2 separate regions of the Homo sapiens genome follow, and region 1 is linked to region 2. Evidence: promoter capture Hi-C in human tissues and cell types (Jung and others, 2019). All regions are on one chromosome and are shown on one strand. Each heading gives the region's core, a stretch centred on a gene start or on the middle of the fragment in contact. The rest is flanking DNA. Distances are from core to core; before and after follow the strand shown. Region 1 overlaps NPRL3 (NPR3 like, GATOR1 complex subunit). Region 2 holds the start of PDIA2 (protein disulfide isomerase family A member 2).

Evidence for each region. Contacts are between HindIII fragments. The study calls those that stand out against the background at their distance.
Region 1: a contact is called between a fragment that was not itself captured here and the fragment with the promoter of PDIA2 in region 2, in 1 of the 25 tissues and cell types used here (aorta).

What each region holds. Positions count from the first base shown.
Region 1 is chr16:96,758-99,911 of GRCh38, reverse strand. It overlaps NPRL3 (NPR3 like, GATOR1 complex subunit), which reads left to right. Exons shown (of 14, transcript NM_001077350.3): 9 at 1,611-1,767. Among named protein-coding and RNA genes, the nearest start is that of MPG, 20 kb to the right of the region's middle. The HindIII fragment of the contact is 4,700 bases long and covers 1-3,154 here.
Region 2 is chr16:281,539-284,863 of GRCh38, reverse strand. It overlaps PDIA2 (protein disulfide isomerase family A member 2), which reads right to left and starts at 1,700. Exons shown (of 11, transcript NM_006849.4): 1 at 1,496-1,700; 2 at 271-477; 3 at 72-205. The coding sequence starts at 1,694. ARHGDIG (Rho GDP dissociation inhibitor gamma) reads right to left here. Exons shown (of 6, transcript NM_001176.4): 2 at 2,939-3,118; 3 at 2,756-2,839; 4 at 2,491-2,567; 5 at 2,334-2,397; 6 at 1,854-2,249. The coding sequence ends at 2,050. The HindIII fragment of the contact is 12,890 bases long and covers 1-3,325 here.

The sequences.
Region 1 (3,154 bases), core at 136-2,635, 180 kb after region 2:
GCCCAGGCTGGATTTCAGTAGTGCGATCCCGGCTCACCACTACGTCCACCTCCCAAGTTCAAGTGATTCTCCTGCCTCAGGCTCCCGAGTAGTTGGGATTACAGGCGCCCACTGCCATGCCTGGCTAATTTTTTTGGTACTTTTAGTAGAGACAGGGTTTCACCATGTTGGCCAGACTGGTCTCGAACTCCTGACCTCAGGTGATCCACTCATCGCTCATCTCAGCCTCCCAAAATATACTTTCTTAATTTAATTGACTTTTTTTTTTTTTTTTTTGAGATGTAGTCTTGCTCGGGGCTCAAGTGCAGTGGCACAGTCTCCACTCAGTGAAGCCTCTGTCTCCCGGGTTCAAGCGATTCTCCTGCCTCAGCCCCCTGAGTAGCTGGGATTATGGGTGCACACCACTACACCTGGCTAATTTTTGTATTTTTAGTAGAGATGGGGTTTCACCATGTTGGCCAGGCTCGTCTTGAACTCCTGACCTCGTGATCCACCCGCCTCGGCCTGCCAAAGTGCTGGGTTACAGGTGTTAGCCACCATGCCCTGGCAATTTAATTGATTTTCTGCAAGGAAAGAACTGAGCCCAGTCTTCTGGCACCACCTGTTCCCAAGTCCCCCAATACCTTGAACATTTTTTAATTATAAAAATATATCTGGGCACATTGCTGAAAATTTGGAAATGACAGAAAGCAAAGCGCTGCCTAGTTCCACCCTCCCCAGTCCGTGCTCTTTGCTTTCAATCCTAGCTAAGCATATTTTAATGTACTTTGGTCCCTAGTCTGTGAGGAGGATTTTGCTTTTCCCATATTTGGGACAATTTCCTTAGGAAAGATTCATTCATGTCTTCAATCAACAGATGTTTGCTGGGCGTCTCTGAGGTGGGATACAGAGTCCAGTCTTCGAGCCTTCCCCACTTTTGTCGTGTTTTTTTCCGAGGGTGACATAATCCTTGCAGGTTTTGTTTTTGTTGTTTTTGAGACAGAGTCTCACTCTGTCGCCAGGCTGGAGTGCAATGGCGCAATCTCGGCTCACTGCAAGCTCCGCCTCCCAGGCTCAAGTGATTCTCCTGCCTCAGCCTGCCGAGTAGCTGGGACCCCAGGTGGGTGCAACCACACCCGGATAATTTTTTTATTTTTAGTAGAGATGGGGTTTCACCATGTTGGCCAGGCTGGCCTCGAACTCCTGACCTCACGTGACCTGCCTGCCTTGGCCTCCCAGAGTGCCGGGATTATAGGCATGAGCCAGTCCTTGGCAGATTTTGTGAAGGCCTCCAAACAGACCACTGCCCTTTTCTCAAATCCCGCTCTTGGCCCTTCTCTCCGCAGTTAAGGGCCAGGAGGCTCCAGCTGCCTGTTTGTGTCCCAGGTGCATACCTGATGCACACCCGGTGCAGGACCTCGTGCAGGACCTGGTGCATACCTGGTGCAGGGTTCCCTGCACTTCGTATGTTCCGTGTGTTTGAGTCCCAGGTGCATACCTGGTGCATACCCGGTGCATACCTGGTGCAGGACCTGGTGCATACCCGGTGCATACCTGGTGCAGGACCTGGTGCATACCCGGTGCAGGGTTCCTGCACTTCGTGTGTTCCGTGACAGGTGATTGTTTTGCAGCCCCTACCATGCCCTGCTGCTGCTCAGTGATGAGAAGTCCTTGCTGGGTGAGCTTCCTATTGACTGCTCCCCTGCCCTAGTGCGGGTGATCAAGACCACATCTGCTGTGAAGAACCTGCAGCAGCTAGCCCAAGATGCGGACCTGGCCTTGCTGCAGGTATAGCTCTGGAGGCCCAGATGGGTGGCATGTGGCGGTGCTGGGGCATCAGGAAAGGCAGGCCGCCTGCCACAGTACATCCACAGGGGCTGTGTCCAGCTGAGAGCCGCGGCACAGCCCACCATGGGGTGGGGCCAGTCCCTGGGATGGCTGGAGGTTTTGGCATCTGAGTCAGACCTGGGTTCAGGGCTGGCTTTGTGAGTGAGCCACGGGACTGACTTGTTCTTCTGTCTCAGAGAGGTAAGGCGAGTCTGTGAGAGAAAGGACTGGGGTGCTTGCAGTCCTGGAGGTTGAGGCACCAGAGCTAGGGGGTGGGCAGGGCAGCAGCGGGCAGGGCCATGGGGGTCTCACAGTGGTGCATGAACAACATACGGGAACTAAGGGCAGGAAGCTTGGATGCGGGGCCCTCCCATGTGCAGAACAGAGACCTAACCTGGTGGCCTTACGCCCCTGTGTGTGCACATGTGTTGGCCTGTGCACTCTGTACAAGATGCCACGTCCTTGCTGAGCCACATGCTTATGGGCCTGTCCATGCAGAGGGCTGCCCTTTCTGATTAGATGGAGGGCCCCTCAGCCTCGTCTGCGGATCTGGTTGGAGTGTGGGAGGAAAAGCGCAGGCAAGGCTGGGCACGGTGGCTCATGCCTGTCATCCTAGCCCAGGACTTTGAGACCAGCCTGAGCAACATGGCAAAACCCCGTCTCTACAAAAAATACAAAAAAAAAAAAAAAAAAAATAGCTGGGTGTGGTGGCGTGCACCTGTAGTCCCAGCTACTTGGGGGTATGAGGTGTGAGGATCAATTGAGCCTGGGAGGCAGAGGTTGCAGTTAGCTGAGATTGTGCCACTGTACTCCAGCCTGGGCGACTCTGTTTCCAAAAAAAAAAAAAGCACGGGGAGAAATCAGAAGCAGGGGCTGCTGATGGGGTGGCCAACAGGCCATGGGATCAGCTGTGGCTGCTAGTCATGTGGGCGTGGCCCAGAGCCACGGGACCATTGAAATACTGCCTGAGGGTGGGAGCAGGTGGTGCCTGTGGGTGGCGCCCTCGTCTGGTGGCGGTGTGCACAGCATGGCCACCAGGGGGCAGCAGAGGCTGCCGAGGAACACAGGCGTGAGGTGGGCCCGCCTGGGTCCCTCTGGCTGAGCTTCCATGCTCTTTTGGCCTGTGAAACAGGTCTCTGCTTAGCACGTTAGGGGAACTTGTCCAACAAGGCCTGACTCTCAGGCCACTTTTCCCCGAAAGCAGCCTTTTTGGATTCTGTCTTTGAGAGTAAGTCTCCCGCCTCTGTATCTCAGGACCCTTTATCTATCCTCTGTGAGAGCACTTACCAAATTGTGCCCTTGTATTTCTTTTTTCTTTTCTGAGACAGGTTCTTGCTCTGTCTCCCAG
Region 2 (3,325 bases), core at 451-2,950:
CCTGTGAGGCCACCCGGTCCCACCCACAGTCACTGCCCTCATGGCCCGGCCCCCCATGCCCAGTGGCTCACCTGGAAGAAGCCAATGACCACTAGGTCCCGGCCACCGATCAGCGCCTGGGCGGCCGCCTCGTCCTCCAGCCGCATGGCACTGGGCCCCACCCGCCGTCGCAGCCACTCGGCAATGCCCTCAGCGTCCCGTGGTCCTGCAGGGAGTCCCCCTCAGCCTCGGCCTGGCCACCGCCCCCCCAATGACCGGCCTGCCCCTCACCTGTGTACTCCTCCGGGTGCGTGCGGTTCCCATTGCGGAAGAACTTGAGCGTAGGGTACTCCGTCACACCAAACTCCTCAGCCAGCTCGCGCTGCGCGGGCCCATCCACCTTGGCCAGCGTGACCACCATTGACTCGGCCGCGAGCACGGCAGCTGCCTTGCTGTACTCGGGGGCCAGGGCCTGGCAGTGCCCACACCACGGGGCATCTGGGGGATGGGGCCGTGAGTGCCCCAGGCCACCACAACCCCAGGAGCACCCTCTCCACACCTGACAACCCAGCAGGGAACAAGCGTGCTGCTCCATTCTGCCCTGAGCCCTGGCCGTGGACAAGCCGAGCACCAGTGCCTCTTCGTGGCCCCCCAGGCTGCAGCACAGGGACCAGTAAGGCTTGGGAGAGCTTGAAAGACCACCCCCCCTCCCCCCACAGCCAGGCTCAGTGGCTCACGCCAGTAATCCCAGCACTTTGGGAGGCAGAGGCGGGCATATCACCTGAGGTTGGGAGTTCGAGACCAGCCTGACCAACATGGAGAAACCCCATCTCTACTAAAAATACAAAAAATATTAGCCGGGATTGGTTGCGTATGCCTATAATCCCAGCTACTCGGGAGGCTGAGGCAGGAGAATTGCTTGAACCTGGGAGGCGGAGGTTGCAGTGAGCCGAGATAGGGCCACTGCACTCCAGCCTGGGCGACAAAAGCAAAACTCCATCTCAAAAAATAAAAATAAAAAGACCCCTCCCTTTCGTGCCTTGTATGGCTGGGGCTCCCGGGCCCATGTGGCTGCCTGTGAAGGCCTCCTAGGCAAGAACAGTTCCTATGTGTGTCAAGGGTTGCGAAAAGACCACAGGGCACACACGTCAGGGACCTCCATGGGCCCCCAAAGCCTGGATACTGCCCGAGCCTCTGCAGAGTCTGTGGGATGCCCCTGGCAGCTGGAGGAGTGGCCGGCAAGGTGGTGACTCTGGCACCGTGGCCGCTGGCCGAGCAGGGAGGCACAGGTGTTCTCAAGTCCTGTGGGTACCCCCAGTACTACCACACTGCTCCTGCCTGCCCCAACCAGACCCCCAGGCCCCTCCTAGAGAGCTCCTGGGCACAGTGGGGGCAAGTGCCTGCGGGGAGGCCCCTCTTGGGCACATGCCCTGCATTTGCCGGCAAAGGGTGGGGCCCCCAGGTGGGCTCTGCCGGTCCCCCGCCGGTCCCCAGCCCCACTGGCCCCAGCACTCACAGAATTCCACCAGCAGGGCAGGGTGCTCCCGCAGGGCCAGGCCCAGGGTGTGGCGGCTCAGCACCAAGATCCCATCCTCCTTGGGGATTTCCTCCTCTGGAGGCTCCTCCGAGGGGCTCCTCGCTCCCTGTTCCTGACCCCATGGGCACGAAGCCCTGAGCAGCAGCAGCAGCAGTACAGGCAGAAGCTGGCGGCTCATGGTGCTGCCAGGGCGCGTGGGGCGGGGGCAGATAAGGGGGCCAGAAGCCAAGCAGCAGCTGCCACGTGGCACACAGGCCCAGTCCCAGCAAAGACAAGGCCCATGCGGCCGCCCCCGGCCCCCAGGGGAGGGGAGGCAGAAAGAGACGACACCCAGGGCACCGAGAGAGACAGGGCCATGTTTAATGGGACAGCTCAGGGGACAGCGCCAGGCCAGGGGGTCCCGGGACAGAGCAGGGGCAGCAGGGGCAGCAGGGGCAGCAGGGGAGGGTCTGGTCACTCACGGGGGGTGCTGGGGATGCTTGGGGGTCCCTGTGCAACAACTGAGGGAGGTAGGGGAGACACGGACTGGGGGTTCAGTCCTTCCAGTCCTGGCAGATGCAGAGACCCCACTCCCAGGACAGGTGGTGCGTCCTGTCATCGTCGGTGAAGAGGGACACCACCAGATAGGGGCCCCGCACCAGCGCACCCCTCGGCGCTTCCTCCACCGGAGTCACAAACTCATACTCCTGGGCGCTCGGGCCATAGCTGCCCACCATGTAGACGGTCTTGTCCACTAGGGAGGGCGAGGGCATCAGAGCTGTCCTCTGTCTGCCCCCGCTTCCCCCCCCCGCCCCGTTCCCCCCACCGCTGCCCTCACCGCGCAGGCCCCGGCGGTAGGTGTGGTGCAGACACTTGAGGCCGCTGACAATCTCCCTGTGGACCTGGGAACAGAGGCATTAGGGGTTCCTCTGGGGGCCAGGCCTCTGGCTGTTGCCCCCACCCCCATCCCCTCCGCCCATTGCCCCGGCTCTCACCTTGAAGGAGATCTTCACTCTGTAATCAACACCTTCCTTCAGGACAAACACCTGGTCCTTCAGAACAGCCAGGTCCCCTATTGGGGAAACCTCAGCTAGGGTCGGAACTCCCCTACAGGCTGAGACCTGCTCCAGGAGCCCCCACGTAGGGTGTGGTACCCATGAGGTGTGCGACTGTGATGGCCCAGGGCTCGGAACTCAGGGGTGCAGAAGCGTGCCTGGGAGGGCCCTACCTGTGTTCAGGGTGCAGCATCCTGCGAGTTACCTGTGAGATCCATGACGACGGGCCCCGGAGCCTGTTCCGACAGGAGTGTCAGCCTGGTCACCTGCACATTGGGCAGGCTTGGGTCTGAGGAGAAACTGGAAGTCTGCAGGATGCCCCCCACCCCCACCAGGCTCCTCACCAGCCCCCCAGACCCAGCCCTCCAAGCCTAGACCCCTGCCATACCCACGGCCGGTGGCAGGGGCCCCAGCAGCACCCGCTTGTACTTGGCCAGGCTCCTGTCGTCCGGGTCCAGCTGCCGGATCTCCAAGAGGCTCTTCCTCCCCGGCGCCCGGTACTCGGGCACAGCCTCATCCAACACCTCGTCCACTGCCGGCGGCCCACCCTCCTTGTCAGCCAGGAGGACTGGGGGTGGGGAGGGGCGTGAGCAGCAGCCACTAGCGGACCCTGGCATTCGAGCACCAGGCTGGAGCCCCCTCTGGCCAGCTGTACCTCCCACTATCCAAAGGGACTCAAGGGAAGCCTCTGGGGGCTCAGGGAGAGAGCGAGCAGAGAGAGCAGGGCGGCCTGGGGAGGTGCCGCACCGCACCCAGACCTTCAGGAGGGGCCTCC